Linked DNA regions of Homo sapiens: regions 2, 3, 4 and 5 are each linked to region 1. The links are contacts of gene promoters, found by promoter capture Hi-C in blood cells and fetal thymus (Javierre and others, 2016). All regions are on one chromosome and are shown on one strand. The core of a region is centred on a gene start or on the middle of the fragment in contact, and the rest is flanking DNA. Distances in the headings are between cores, read along the strand shown.

Region 1 (2,929 bases), core at 416-2,915:
AAAATTAACTGAATAAACAGGTAACTGAATTAACTAGCTGTAACACTAGACTACAAAGTTATACAAGATTAAAAGTTATGAGGTACTATTTATTATATGTAAATATTACAAATATTTTTTGTTAAAAATATCTAAGGCTTTTGAGTTTTTGAAATGCAAGCTTTCCCCTATACTTAAGTATATTCATTATCTTACTGCTTTGGTCAGGACAAGAACTGAAAAAGAGAAATAATCTTGAGTTCAGAATGAACAATTCTTGCTATATATATTTTCCCACATGTGTTAGGAATGTTCTGTAAACCTTCCGAGAAATAGTGACTTGAACTAAATACTAAACTACTACCAAGCCCCAGGTGCATTTTTGGAAGTTTTTAGTCATTGGGAGCCATGGCATTTCTTTTCTCTGTATTACAAACTGTTACACTCACTTTCTTTGACTATTAACATTGGAACAGTAGACCTCCTGTTCTGTGACTGACTGGCAGGCAGAAATGACACAGACAGGAAATGGGAAATGGTTCAGGGTCTTGGAATTCCCCCGGCTCCCTAATTAAGTGGCTTGCTATTTGGAAGTTTTTTAAATATTTGCCCCTTGGAGTTCCCCAGAGAGAAGCAAGCATCGGATTCAACGGGCAAAGAGCGTCAACTTCAAAAGTCGTTCGTTGGTTGTCATACCACAAACATTTACTGCACGACACTGTGTCTATGGCACTATTGGGGGAGTATGGCGGGGGGATACAAAAGGTCCATGACTAGCAAAAGCCAAGGGTTTTTATTTACAAATTTTCTATTACCTAAGCATTAAAAAAAATTGGGCTCCTCTCTGGTTTATGTACAATTATATGTGCATGTACACCAATACACAGGCAGACGTATATATTTCATTTTATTGAAACATTCAGAAAATACTGGGAGTGAAGCCTGACTTGCAATACAGTTCTCTTTGCTGGCAATGAGCATCTGAAATAATGACACTTTTTTCTTTAGTGCATATGAACTGTTTGTCTCCAGAACAGAAAACCAAAAGTTTAAAAACAAGATACTCCCGTTGACATCAAGTCTTCAGAATTATTCATCTGATGCTTCCTAGTTTCCAAAGTTTCGCTTTTTTCGATTTGCACAGGCAGCTGTTGAACGCTGATGCTACACAAACGGTTACAATTGTTTACTTAAGCAAAAAATGCCACCAGACTGACTCCATCCTCAAAATGCAGTCATCTGGACGGGGGGAGGCATCACACTTGGGGAGCCTTGCCAGGGGCCAGATCATAACCCTGAGGTGACACAGGGTAGGACGCGCAAAACCACCGGCGCCAGGGCGTTTCCGCAGGGTTTCCCAAAACTCAAACGCAGCGGCTCACGGTTTGCCACGTCCCCCAGGAGAATGGTAGACACAGAGAGGAAATGTGGAGAGGGCACAAACCGCAAGGTGAAGAAAACGAACAAACACCGAGTTGATACGGATAGTCCCCGTTCCCCTGAGGGCCGACCCCGTGACTCCCGATGAGCGTCCAGTTGCGCCGGGCATCCTGGCCTCCCAGCGTCTTTCCCGGAGGTTCATCGCCGCACGGCGGAAAGCGCTCTCGGTTCCGCTTTCCGGCCCCAGCCTCCCGGGCGCCCTCGCGCGGCGGCTAACGCTGGTCCTCGGCCGGGCGCGCTGACGTCATCGTGCGTCAGAGTGAGCCCGGATGGGGCGGCGGGCTTCGGGAGCGCCCGGGCTGATCCGAGCCGAGCGGGCCGTATCTCCTTGTCGGCGCCGCTGATTCCCGGCTCTGCGGAGGCCTCTAGGCAGCCGCGCAGCTTCCGTGTTTGCTGCGCCCGCACTGCGGTGAGTGCTGCTCCTTCCGGGCTCGGGCGGCGTGGGGCGGGTGGGGACGCGAGGGCCCGCGGGGGCCCACTTCCCTGATGTGGCGGCGAACGAGGAAGGACGGGGCCTGAGGCCCTTCGGCCAAGGGTCGAGGGTCGCCGGGGGCTCTCTGCTTTCTACTCTCGCCAAGGTTTTATTGGATTCGGAAGCCCCAACTTCGAGACTTGCAGTCAAAGCGATTTTTAAAATGACTTGTTTTCAAGCCTCTGGCCGCCGCCCACTCTTCTGGCCCTTGGACTTTGACCAAGATGTTTTCTCGCAGTTTTTGCAAGGTTTTAAACTTAGCCCTCGGCGTTCTTTTAATGTAATACATTGAAACGAAGATATTTCGGTGGCGGCGATATTTCATATTTCATAGTTGCCACTGCGCTCTGTCATTCCAGTAGTCGTCTGTTGTGTATTGTGAGAAGCAACTCTGGGAAATTATTGGGTAAATCCCATAGTTTCTATTCTTTTCCCTTCCATCCTATCCCCTGCCCAGCTGCAATTTGCGTAAAGAGAATGCAGCAGTGCGGTGCACGTAGATAAAAATCTTTCATTTAAAGATAGGATATAAGACCGGGTGTAATTAAAGCAATCATGCCAGTGGTCGTAGTGCCGGAGCCACTGTTTCACAGGCCACTGTGTTAGGTTTTGTTTTCGAGTTGCTTTCTGTGGTCGTTGCTTTGAAATTGTAAGGGAATGGCAGAGTTTAAGAGTTTATATTAATGAACTCGTGGTGCATTTTACTGCAGTTTTCCTAGTCGTGGAGAGACTTGATATTACAAACTAACGTTGCTGTCTTAATTCCTGCTGTACTGCTGCTGACAGGGTGTAGTGGAGTGTCTGTCTGTCTTTTTAACCAATGTGCCTTTGCCTCCAGCAGAGTGCCAGAGTTACCTTTAGGCCAGAAAAGGGGAGGAGAGCAAGGACAAAATGTTTCCTGTGTGAAAATTTCCATCTGTCTCTGAAGTTGTGCGTTTTAAAGACACGTATAGTTAGTGCTATGGGGAGTATGTTGCATTTACTTATTTTAATTAATAGCTTTTTCATTTAGAAAGTTGTGACAAATTGCTGGAATTA
Region 2 (3,010 bases), core at 257-2,756, 580 kb after region 1:
ACAACTGTGAAGTTTTGGATTTGTGTGACAAAACCAAAAATAGTACTAGGAAATTCAAATTGGCTTGTGGGAAGACAGGAAAAGTGCTTTGGATAGAGTCATAATTCAAGATGAAAAAGGCCTAATAATGATCAGAATCAGTGATTTTAAAATTTGTATGTTTAATTTTAATGTAGGCATCTTTCTGCACATGAAATTTTAAATGGGAGTCCAATACGTGTAGCAAAATAAAAGGAAAATGATTCTTGTTGGGGTAAGATTGGGTGGGAGGGTCCCACATACTTCCTACTCAGGCCTCCTCTCATTACTTCCCCAACCCCAACACACACCTAAGGGGGGCTCTTAGACGGTGCATGGAAAGTGGTTTAAAAATCAGAGCTCCATCTTTTTACAGAAGAGAAAACGGTTGTCTGAGGAGGCAAAGTGAATTGCCCAAGCATACACAGCTGGTCAGTAACAGATCTAGGACTAAAACCCAGGTTTTCTTAATGCAGAATTCAGTAATGGCATGTCTAATGGGTGCTAGGTGCTAAGGCTACAATGTGACCGAGACTCAGTCTCATAAAACTTGCATTTAAACAAACAGGTAACAGATCCACACTGAGAGAGTGATAAACCCTATGGAGGAAGTAGAACAGAGTTCCATGAAAGACAGCAGCTGCCCCCAGGCTGCCTAAGAGTAAGGAGCCAGCGGTGTGGAGAACCAGGGGAGGTGGGTCCCAAAGGGGAAGAGCAATTGCAAAGATCCTGGGGCAGGAATGAGCTTGATAGGTGGGAAGAACAGAAAGGCACCAACGTGGTCAAAGAACAGGGAAAAAATTAGGAGATAAGTGACAAGAGGTGAGTGACATCGGTGACGCAAATTGGGACCAATCAGGCACTGTCTTGCTTTGTGAAGTTCAGTGTCACCACCAAGAACTTCAAATGGAGAGTTGCAACCACCACTCAAAATTCAGATCAAGATTGGGCTAGAGATACAGCCTTAAGAGGCAGTGTCTTCTCAGGAAAGAGCCATTGGAAATGCCAGAAGTGCATTAAGCAGGAAAAGGCAGGATGACAAGGAGAAAGAAAAGGCCTGAAGAGAGAAACTTAGAGAACATTTATGGGAAAGCAGAAGAAAAAAATCTCAGAACTAAGAGAACTAAGCAAAACACCAATTAAGTGTGACCTTACAGAAGCCATGGATGCCAGGACCTTTGAAAAGTGGGCAGATGTCAGCAGCGTCAAAAGCTTCCACCCCTAACCATTCCCTGATGTCCAAAAATAGTCAAAGACATGAGGAATAAAGACTCTTATGCTTGACAATTAAAGAAACACAGCTATTCAGAAAACCTTGGAAAGCACAGTCTCAGTAGGATAGTAGGGCTTTGGGTTGAAGCCACGTAACAAGGATTGGATGAATTAATTACATGTCAGAAGTAGACTCAGTGCAGTTCATGAACTATGCCTCGAGCACTGACATGTGCTATAACAGCATTTGACATTGGGGTAGAGAGATAGGAAAAGAATCATCAACAATAGGAGACAACTAGTGCCTCCACCCTCAAGTAACATATTATCTAGAAGAGAGAGGGAGAGGAAAGCTGAGGACAGTGTGAGAGTCTGTCAGAATCAAATGCATTCACTACTCATGCCCCCAGAAGTTTACTGTTTAATGTGGCAATGATGAACCTGTTCAGGTTACCATTTCTGTGGCGGCTTTGAGTCCTTTAGAAACATTGGCACCATCATTGTGTTGTAAAATTTGTGTGTTATGTGGAGCCTCATAGTTCCATATCAGGGTCAAGCTTCAATCCAATTTGGTTCAGAACGTTCTATGTAAAAGGCAGAGCTGTAGGCACAAGATGTGATCCCACAATGCTTCTGCAAGCTAATGGGAGACACAAATGCTGGAAGAAAAGTAAAAGCAATGTGCTTTGTAGAAGAGGAAAAGAGAATTCTATCTGAACGTGTAAGGTCGGCTAGGCCTTTAGTAAGCACTCTTCTCCAGTCAGTAAAATTGATAGAGCGCAATTTTATCATTGGTAACAGAATAGAGGGGTCCCCGCCTATCTTGCTCATTCAACTAGGCTTAAGGACAACCTAGGGGATACTCAAATGTTTGCCCACTGAAATAGCAGTGTCTTAGAGTCACACTAGACTAGGGGTCTATACGCTTCATCACCCTCTCCTTCTCAATCCTCTGGATTGTATTACATTTACTGGAACTGGAGCTTCATGGCAAAACAGATTTTCCAAAATGGTTAATAAATTACATATATTACCACATGAAAGGCAAGGAAGGCTGTGAGTGAGTAATAATGTCTAGGTTACTAATTAAACATGTGCTTGCTTTAAAGCTTTTCTCTGTAATAAGGTTTATTACAGTATAATTGATTTTCCTTTCCCACAAGTTAATCATTTTAAAACCACAAATGAACTACAAGATTCAGCTTGTTCCAGGGCTGTATTTTCCCTGTCTAGTTTGTACTGGCTTAGACATCATGTAATGACAGAAGTCTTTTTCTAAATTTATTGGTACAACACCTTAAAGATCCTAATTCCAAAGTCAAAAGGTTTTGAAGAAACAGATTTTAAAGAACTACCAAAAACTGAAGAAAGGGACAAAATATTTATTAGTCTAGAAAATCTGAAAGATGCTTTTCTATATAATAAATGAGTTCTAAATATGCCATATGAACTTGCTGTGCCTCTATTCCTTCCTGTTAGTGTTTGTTACTTTATGATTCCTTCAGTTTAAATGTGAGGAGGTATAAGTGAATTCATTCAGAGATGATTTGAACAATAACTTCCAGTGATGCAAGCCAAACTCCCCATTGCTTAGCACTTAGCCTTTGGAGATCTTAGAAGATAGTAGGAATGTAAGAAGGAAGGAAGGATGGAAGGAAGGAAGGAAGGGAGGGAGGAAGGAAGGAAGGAAGGAAGGAAGGAAGGAAGGAAAGGGAGGGAGGGGAGGAAAGAAGGAAAAAAGGGAAGGAGGGAGAGGGAGCTGGGATCTAGGAATAACCAA
Region 3 (2,846 bases), core at 103-2,602, 700 kb after region 1:
GGATAATGTTTACAGTTTCAGACAACTCTGATTTTCTCCCAAATTTGCTGAGCAAAAACTAATGGCCTAAATGCAAATTCCACTCCTGTTTGGTAATTACAAGTTTCCCTCTAACATAAACAAGAATGCTTTTTGGAAAATTGATTTTCTCACATATACCAAGCAAGTAGTCTCTTCATTGAAAGAACAGGTATCAATCCACGGACTGGTTTTAAATGTTGGTTAAATGGTCAGTAGCTGTTAATCATAGTTGTAGAAATTTTTAAGGTAATATGTTCATTGGACTAGTTTCCAATCATATCTCACAATCAATACTTTTATAATTCTATAAATTCATAACTGATCACATGCATTTCACATATTCATCGCAGTATTGATGTTAACACTATTTGAAATTACTGAATAACGTCATAGATGCAATAAAGTGATTTGCCATGCCTATCTTATTAGAATGTTGTAACAACCCTGGAAATTATCCAGGCAAAACACCTGGTTTCTAATCCAGAGCTCTTTCCACTGCTAATAAACAAGGGTTATGAGAAGGCAAAGAGCACAGTGAACTCTCAGTTATTAACAGGAAAACTTTCTGGTTTTCTGGAAGCCAGTCTTATCCAGTTTGACTTTTGGAAGGCCAAGCAACCCCACAAAATGGATGTACAAATTCCCTTGTTATATTTATCTCATCCACTATAAAAACACGGGACAGACCATCCTCCTAGGAGTGTCTAGAATTTTATATTTAAAATAAGTAGTTACTGATTAAAATATTGATTCTGCTGAGCTCGCATTTACTTTAAGATATTATTGAGATTTTTTTGACCATTTCTATTTTTTAAGTGATTGAGTAATTTTCTAAATTTGCATATTAGGTAATTGAAGGTTGTGTCGTGGCTGGAATCTGGTTCATGACAAATTCCTCTTTCTAGTTGTCATTCTTTCCATTTAGTTACTCTCTGGGACTTCAGGAGAATGCACAATTTTCCAGTAAAGCCACGTGATAAGTATTTGTTTACACTTATGAAGTACTTCCTGTTTTGTTTTTTCCCACTCTTGTCTACATACAGATATAAGAAGTCTGAAAAACTTGCCTGCTTTTCCTTAGTCCCGCTGGCTTTTCTTCATTATTTTCACCAAATAAATGAGGTAGAAAACTCATCTTTTCTTTTCTTTTTTTTTTTTTTTTGAGACTGAGTCTTGCTCTGTTGCCCAGGCTGAGTGCAGTGGCGCGATCTCGGCCCACTGCAAGCTCCGCCTCCAGGGTTCATGCCATTCTCCTGCCTCAGCCTCCCGAGCAGCTGGGACTACAGACGCCTACCACCACGCCCGGCTAATTTTTTGTATTTTTAATAGAGACGGGGTTTCACCGTGTTAGCCAGGATGGTCTCGATTTCCTGACCTTGTGATCCACCCGCCTTGGTCTCCCAAAGTGCTGAGATTACAGGCGTGAGCCACCGCGTCCGGCCGAAAACTCATCTTTTCTTATAGCAACTACACTTAGTATCATTTCCCTTTGCTTTTCTCTATTACTCACACACACAAACCTATGCTCTATATTCCTTTTTCGCTTGTATCTTGTTTCATTCAGTGACCACCACCTGAATCAATAGGCACTGCTCAGGGAGATTAGAAGATTTGGAAGGTATAGAAGCCATGGGCATTTTAGTAATCAGAAGGAAATAACATTCTAGCCTGCTTGGCCGGAACTGCCATCTTCCAGTAATTCACCAAAATAACGAATGCAAAAGGAAAGAGCAGAGGCACCCTATATATGTTCTGTAGGCCTTTTAGAAAACATGGAGTTGTTCCTGTGGCCACAAACACATGAATCTATAAGAAAGGTGATATTGTAGACATCAAGGGAATAGGTTGAAAAAGGAGTGCCCACAAGTGTTACCATGGCAAAACCGGAAGAGTCCCAGTGTTCCTCCGCATGCCGTTGGCATTGTTGTAAACATACAAGTTAAGGGCAAGATTCCTGGCAAGAGAATTAATGTGTGTATTGAGCACATTAAGCATGCTAAGAGCCAGGATAGCTTCCTGAAACGTGTGAAGGAAAATGATGGGAAAAAGAAGGAAGCCAAAGAGAGAAGTACCTGGGTTCAGGTGAAGCGCCAGCCTGCTCCACCCAGAGAAGTGCATTTTGTGAGAACCAACTGGAAGGAGCTTGAGCTGCTGAGACCCCTTCCCTATGGATTCATGGCATAATAGGTGTAGAAAAGTAAAAGGCCTCTGAACTGTAAAAATGTTTCTCTTCTTTGAGTAGAAGTGGGTGTCCTCTCCCCTAAAGAAATATTTAAAGCAAATTTAAATTTTGCCCTTATTCATTGTGTAATGTCTTTACTATTAATATTAAATTTAATGTTTTTCTTGCTGAAAGATGTGGCTTATTGTGCAACAAATTACTCAATTGGTTAGAAAACGGCCAGATATTACTTATAAAATATTTTTACTGGTTTGAAAACTGTCCCTCTAAATCATCATGTAAGAAATAAAATAATTTTGAAAAAAAATTCTAAGTAATTCTGGGCAAAGTATATAATTTATGCAATTGCATATAAATCTATGCCAGCAACTGCATCAAACCACAACTTTTATTTTTAAAGTTTATATTACTCTAAAAAAATACAGAAGGTTTCCAAATGATCAGTTTTCTTCAAGTCTTACAGATAATTATTTTAAGAAAAGGCTTTTCATGAGTTTTAGCAGGATCTTTAAATAAAGTTACCACATTATAAGCACAAAAAAGTTTTTTTCTTTGTCTTTACATATAAAGACAAAAAGGGAAGCATGTTTTACATAGACAGCCATAAAAGACAAAAAAGCAAGAATGCCTCAGAGACCTAAGA
Region 4 (2,796 bases), core at 52-2,551, 740 kb after region 1:
TATTAAAAATGCTAATATAGTAAACAAATGTTTAATTAGAATCTTACACTACCTAGGAAAGTTCCTAGTTGAGGCAAATATTTTCTATTTCTATTGTATCTAGTAACCTTTATAAGTGAAATAAGATGGGTGACCTTTTGATTATATATCATTCATACCAGTAAAACTGGCATTTGGGATAATGGGTCAACATTTTAAATGGAGGTCAGTAAGAAATGAATTCCCTTCATTTAAATTGGGTTAGTGGTTGTCTTGGGATGCCAGTAATAGCATTTATTTCTGGTCTAGAAAGAATCTGTTCTGTTACTAAACAATTTTAAAATTGTACTTTGGGATCACTCAGCTGATTCCAACAGTAAAGTTACTGCCCCCCTTTCAAAATAGTCTCACATTCCATACAATTAGCCTAAACTTATACCTCAAGTTCAAAGTATACTACTTTAGACCTTAATGTGGATGAGCACTAAATATAAGGCAATAGCTACATATACACTTCCATTTTAAACAAACATTTTGAGAATGATAGTGATTAAAAGAAGGAGAAAAAAAAGTGAAGCAGGTTAAAAAAAAGGAAAAGGAAAAGAAAAAAGCTTTAAAATCAATAACTCCAAAAAAACAAAACTATTCTAAGGGGAAAAAAATTCCATATATATTTATGAGATAGTATAAGTGTTCTTTTGCATATATTTGCTTAACTCTTCAGCCCCATCTCTGGCTGGCTTTGACTTTCGCCTCTAAAACACAACCCCATCCTGGGCCTAGGGCTCTTCATCCACCAGTTACAAGATTTAGCTGAGGTTAAGTTAGCTCCTCTAGAAAACTCCCATGACACTTTAAAAGCTGGGTTATATATCCCTCCTATGAACTCTCACAGTGTATCTTCTGAATATAGTATTTATCACACTGTATTAATATCAGTCTATTTATTTTCTTACTATTGCATCTCTAGTAGAAGTGGATGGCTAAATGATAATTGTTAAAAAGTAAATGTGTTGTACAATTATAACTGAGGGGTTTAAATCTTTTACTATGTCTCCCCAAAAGTTTCAGAAAATGTTAGTTCAGAAAAATTTCAAAAAGAGAATATTGAATAGAAATGTTTTATTATGTACTTTGTGTTTTCCACAATATCAAATACAAAAATGTTTTATTGTGTACCTTTTATTTTCCAGAATACTACTTTAGCCAATAGATGTAAATAAATGAATCTTTGTTTACACGTTTTATTAATAGTAAATGAGTTCTTCCCTCCCAGTAAATATATACCGAATATATATTTAAAGAAATATCAGCCTAAATTGGCAACAAATTTTTAGTCTACCCACAATCTTCAGTCCTGACCCTCATCCCAGTACACAGCACTAACACATAGCAGGCCTGTAACAGATAATTTGTTAAATGAATAAGGCAAATAAACTTTTTAAAGCATATGACTAGTATCTTCTTATATTAATTTCATTACCTGCATATTCATAAAACCAAGCCAGGCACTTCTTGCTTGAAAAATGTTCCTCTCCACTTATTAGTCTAGCAGGGGGTTGGGATCTGCAATAGCTTAGAAAACACACAGACGCCTAAGATTTTTATCACATCTCAACTCTTAGAGAAAAACTAAGTTCAAAATTAACAACTTCCATTCACATTAAACAAAGGTTTTTTTTTTCTTCGGTTGGCATTGTTGGAAAAAAACTGAAGTTGTTAAGTAATTGCAACTTGAAACAGTAGTCTATACATAAGAATTATCGGCTAACAAAACCCAAATACCTTTTCACTCAGTATCAAAATCCAAAAATATCAGTAAGTTATTTCCGCACATTTTAAAAGACTACAAAGAAGTTCAACCTAGTAGGTGGGAAAGTATAAATATTTATTATGATTCTATTGATTTGCATAGAAATTCTATTTGTGTGTAATAGATAAATATTTGAAAACAAACTCTTACAAAGTATATTTTGATACTTAATGAATCAATATTTCAAAATAAAATGTTATATTAAGAGTTGTTTTATCACCTAAGCTTAAATAGATTTTTAAAGATAAATGATGACTTAGGACCTAAGGGTATATTAAATTACACAGATTTAAAAAAAACAACAAAAAAACACTAAAAGTTAATAATAGTCCAAATAATTGGGACAAGGCTATTTAATCCTAGGTTCTGTTCATTCTATTTCATTTTTTTCATAAAATCATTTTCATTGTTTTTCATAAAATAACTAAAATTTGGTAAGTTCAAAATGGCCTCTAGAATTTAATGGCCTTCAGAGAAACTTTTTTCAAGGAACTCAAATAATTACCCTACCACAATGATATAGAAATGATAGAACTTCTGTAACTGAGTAAAGTAAGAGTATCATATTTAAAAATTTAAATTGATAGAGCAAAGTATCACCTGAGTTCTAATAATACTGCCTGCTCAGCTATCTTAATGTACTTAACTTAAATAATTTTAATACATTATATACTTAAGATGGCCATGATATAGTACAAAAATGAATAATAATTTGCCTGTATCTTATAAAAATGTGAGCTACTAAAGTAACCATGTCAAATTCTAATGTTGACAAACAAGAGGTGTATGTATCATCGTTCACATTAATAGCCTAATACTCCATAGACTCCTTTACCAAAACACAGTAATGAGGGAAAAAAGTCGACCAATTACAAAAAAGAAGATGCAGACTATGTAAGTCATCTACCTCACAGTTTAAGCAGATCTCTCTTTAAGGAGAGCTCTATCATTATTTCCTTCTTATAATCCTGGCTACAGTCTCCTTTCAATAGTAGCATCTGAAG
Region 5 (2,828 bases), core at 22-2,521, 760 kb after region 1:
TGTAGTGGCGCGATCTCTGCTCACTGCGTCCTCCACCTCCTGAGTTCAAGCGATTCTCGTGCCTCAGCCTCCCGAGTAGCAGGCGCGCGCCGCCACGCCTGGCTAATTTTTGTATTTTCAGTAGAGACGGGGGTTTCACCACGTTGGCCATGTGGGTCTCCATCTCCTGACCTCAAGTGATCCGGCCTCCCAAAGTGCTGGGATTGCAAGCATGAGCCACCGCGCCCGGCCTATATTCTACTTTTTAAGAAAGACTGCAGATACGTTATAACTAAAAAGAAAACATTTACTTAGTTATTTTTATTTTTTTCTCTCCCCTTTTTGAGTTTTTTTTTTGGGGGGAAGGCAAATTCTAGTCTATCTTTTTTGGATCAGGCTCTGATTTTAACATTGCCCAAGGGAAAGATTAGTTAGGAATTTAAATTTTTGTGAAATGATATATTTCAAAATAAAGTTTGAATTCTTTTTTGGTGTACATCATGTGATATACTGATTTATTAATTGCACTGCTCCCTCCACTGGCAGGATTGCTTAAAAAATGGGTTGCATTTGCAATCAGGGCTTATATATATAAGCCTAAAAGAAAAACACAGAAGAAAATTGCCTGACACATTAAAGGGGACTCAGTAAATAGATTTAAGTTAATAAAACAAAGACATATTTTAAACCTCTTCCTTTGGTGTTCACCCTTATCCCTAGGTCTAGCAGAGTTTTTGACACTCAGCAAAAACATTCAGTGCCTTTTTTTTTTTTTTTAGACGCAGTTCGCAGTTTCGCTCGTATTACCCAGGCTGGAGTGCAATGGCACAATCTTGGCTCACTGCAACCTCTGCCTCCCGGGTTCAAGCGATTCTCCTGCCACAGCCTCCCAAGTAGCTGGGATTACAGGGCATGTGCCACCACACCCAGCTAATTTTTTGCAATTAGTAGAAATGGGGTTTCACCATGTTGGTCAGGCTGGTCTCGAACTCCTGACCTCAGGTGATCCACCCGCCTTGGCCTCCCAAAGTGCTGGGATTACAGGTGTGTGCCACCGTGCCTGGCTTCAGTGCATTTTTATAGGATGATTGAATCATTCACCCTATTCACTATCTTTATTCTTAGGTTTAATTCGATTGTATTTAATAAACATTTACTTTGAACTCAGTACATGCAAGGCACTTTGCCAGGCATGATGGGTTTACAAAGATATAAAAAGGATGGATAATCATAGCTAACATTTATTTTCACTTTAGACTCTGTCAAGCACTGTTCTAAGTACTTTATATGTATTCGTTCATTTAATAGCCATAACGACATTGTAAGATAGGAACTATTCTTTTTCTTATTTTATGGCTGAGGAAAGTAAGGGACAAAATTTACAACCTAAATGTTAACTTTTCTTTTTCTCCAATAGGTAGCGTAGTTCAGGATAGAGCCCCCTGCTTTCTGCCTTTCCTAGACTCACTCCAGTGGCTTAGGATGACATATACTCAGCAAATGATAAAATCAGGACACACTGTTGTAAATGCCACTGAAAGTTCGGATAGAATGCAGTAGGAAAGATGGAAAGGGGTTTGGATTCGTGAAAGTGTATCTTGGCTTGGGTATTTGAAAGTTGAAGGTAGAACTTTTTTTTTTTAAGTTAAAGCTATTACTAGTAAAGCCCAACGATGTATCTGTTATTTTTAGTTGTACACTTCGCTACAGGTTTTTAGTCATATTTGAAAATATTTTGTTATGTCTTCAGTTGTACTTTAGTTGCCTGATAGTTAGCGTGATTCAATAAGTTAATAAGTCAGCAAATATTTATTGCCTACCTACTAGTACTGGGGACAAAGCCATGAACACAGAGTCCGTATCTTAAAGGAGTAACATTGGAATGGACAAAGGTAGGCTAAACGCATGCTACAGATATATGTAACATAATTTTGGGTATTGATAAGTGCCGTTAAGATAAAAATAATGTTATAGTAGTGATGGGGCAGCGTGGGGAACTAAAGATATATAGGGTGGGAGATAATCCCTCTCTGGATTAGTTATCTTTGAAGCGAGATTTGAATGATGAGTTGCAGGCAGGCATAACCTGGGGGAAGAGTGTTCTAAGCAAAAGAAACTGTAAGTACCAAGGCCCTGAGCTGGGTTTTAACTTAGTTTCCAGGGGCAAGAAAAAAAATCCAGAGTGATTGCTGGAGTTTATGGTATGAAGGAACATTGTGGTAGATGAGAAAGGAGAATAAGGCACAGGCTGATCATTTAGGACACTGTATACCATTTAAATTGAAATAGGAAGTTATTGGTAATCTTAAGCAAGAGAGAGCTGTGATCTGGTTTATGCTTTAGGACAGAGGTTGGCAAAAAGTTTTCTGTAACGGGTCAGATAATATTGCAGGCAACAAGGGCTCCATTAGCAGCTACAACTTGGCCTTTGTAGTGTGAAAGCAGACATGTAATACTTTGTAATAATACATGTAATTGAATGGGAATGGCTATGTTCTAATAAAACTTTATGGACACTGACATGTGGATTTCATATACTTTTCATGTGTCATGAAATGTTATAAGCATTTGAGCAGTAACAAAGTTTCAGCTCCTTTCCAGTGGCCAAAAATGTAATTATTTGGATAGAAATAAGTGGCATGAGACCCATAGCTGTTCTTCCTACACAGCAGTGACCTTGTCTGAAAGCTTTTTAATGTGTAGACTTCTTTTCCTGAAAAAAGAAATGAGAATAACTGAGAATGTGTGTATAATGCAAAAACTTCCTTTGACTAGTATAGTTCTCAGCTAATGAACTCATTACTATGAACTGACCTATTTTAAACAAGATTGCTGTAGTGAATTCCAAT

The links. Contacts are between HindIII fragments. The CHiCAGO score rates a contact against its expected background, and 5 or more counts as called.
Region 2: a contact is called between a fragment that was not itself captured here and the fragment with the promoter of BIRC2 in region 1, in 3 of 17 cell types (M1 macrophages, M2 macrophages and M0 macrophages). The highest score is 9.3, in M1 macrophages.
Region 3: a contact is called between a fragment that was not itself captured here and the fragment with the promoter of BIRC2 in region 1, in 1 of 17 cell types (fetal thymus). The highest score is 5.9, in fetal thymus.
Region 4: a contact is called between a fragment that was not itself captured here and the fragment with the promoter of BIRC2 in region 1, in 7 of 17 cell types (total CD4 T cells, total CD8 T cells, non-activated CD4 T cells and 4 more). The highest score is 8.8, in total CD4 T cells.
Region 5: a contact is called between a fragment that was not itself captured here and the fragment with the promoter of BIRC2 in region 1, in 2 of 17 cell types (naive CD8 T cells and non-activated CD4 T cells). The highest score is 9.5, in naive CD8 T cells.

Annotation. Positions count from the first base shown.
Region 1 is chr11:102,345,549-102,348,477 of GRCh38, forward strand. It overlaps BIRC2 (baculoviral IAP repeat containing 2), which reads left to right and starts at 1,666. Exons shown (of 9, transcript NM_001166.5): 1 at 1,666-1,828. RefSeq lists an enhancer at 2,218-2,287. The HindIII fragment of the contact is 3,484 bases long and covers 159-2,929 here.
Region 2 is chr11:102,927,844-102,930,853 of GRCh38, forward strand. No RefSeq gene overlaps it. Among named protein-coding and RNA genes, the nearest start is that of MMP13, 26 kb to the right of the region's middle. The HindIII fragment of the contact is 557 bases long and covers 1,229-1,785 here.
Region 3 is chr11:103,043,508-103,046,353 of GRCh38, forward strand. It overlaps the pseudogene RPL21P96. Among named protein-coding and RNA genes, the nearest start is that of DCUN1D5, 47 kb to the right of the region's middle. The HindIII fragment of the contact is 8,262 bases long and covers 1-2,846 here.
Region 4 is chr11:103,087,765-103,090,560 of GRCh38, forward strand. It overlaps DCUN1D5 (defective in cullin neddylation 1 domain containing 5), which reads right to left. Exons shown (of 8, transcript NM_032299.4): 2 at 1,463-1,554. Among named protein-coding and RNA genes, the nearest start is that of DCUN1D5, 3.0 kb to the right of the region's middle. The HindIII fragment of the contact is 1,427 bases long and covers 589-2,015 here.
Region 5 is chr11:103,110,081-103,112,908 of GRCh38, forward strand. The region is part of intron 1 of DYNC2H1 (dynein cytoplasmic 2 heavy chain 1); the gene reads left to right. Among named protein-coding and RNA genes, the nearest start is that of DYNC2H1, 2.1 kb to the left of the region's middle. The HindIII fragment of the contact is 2,788 bases long and covers 1-2,665 here.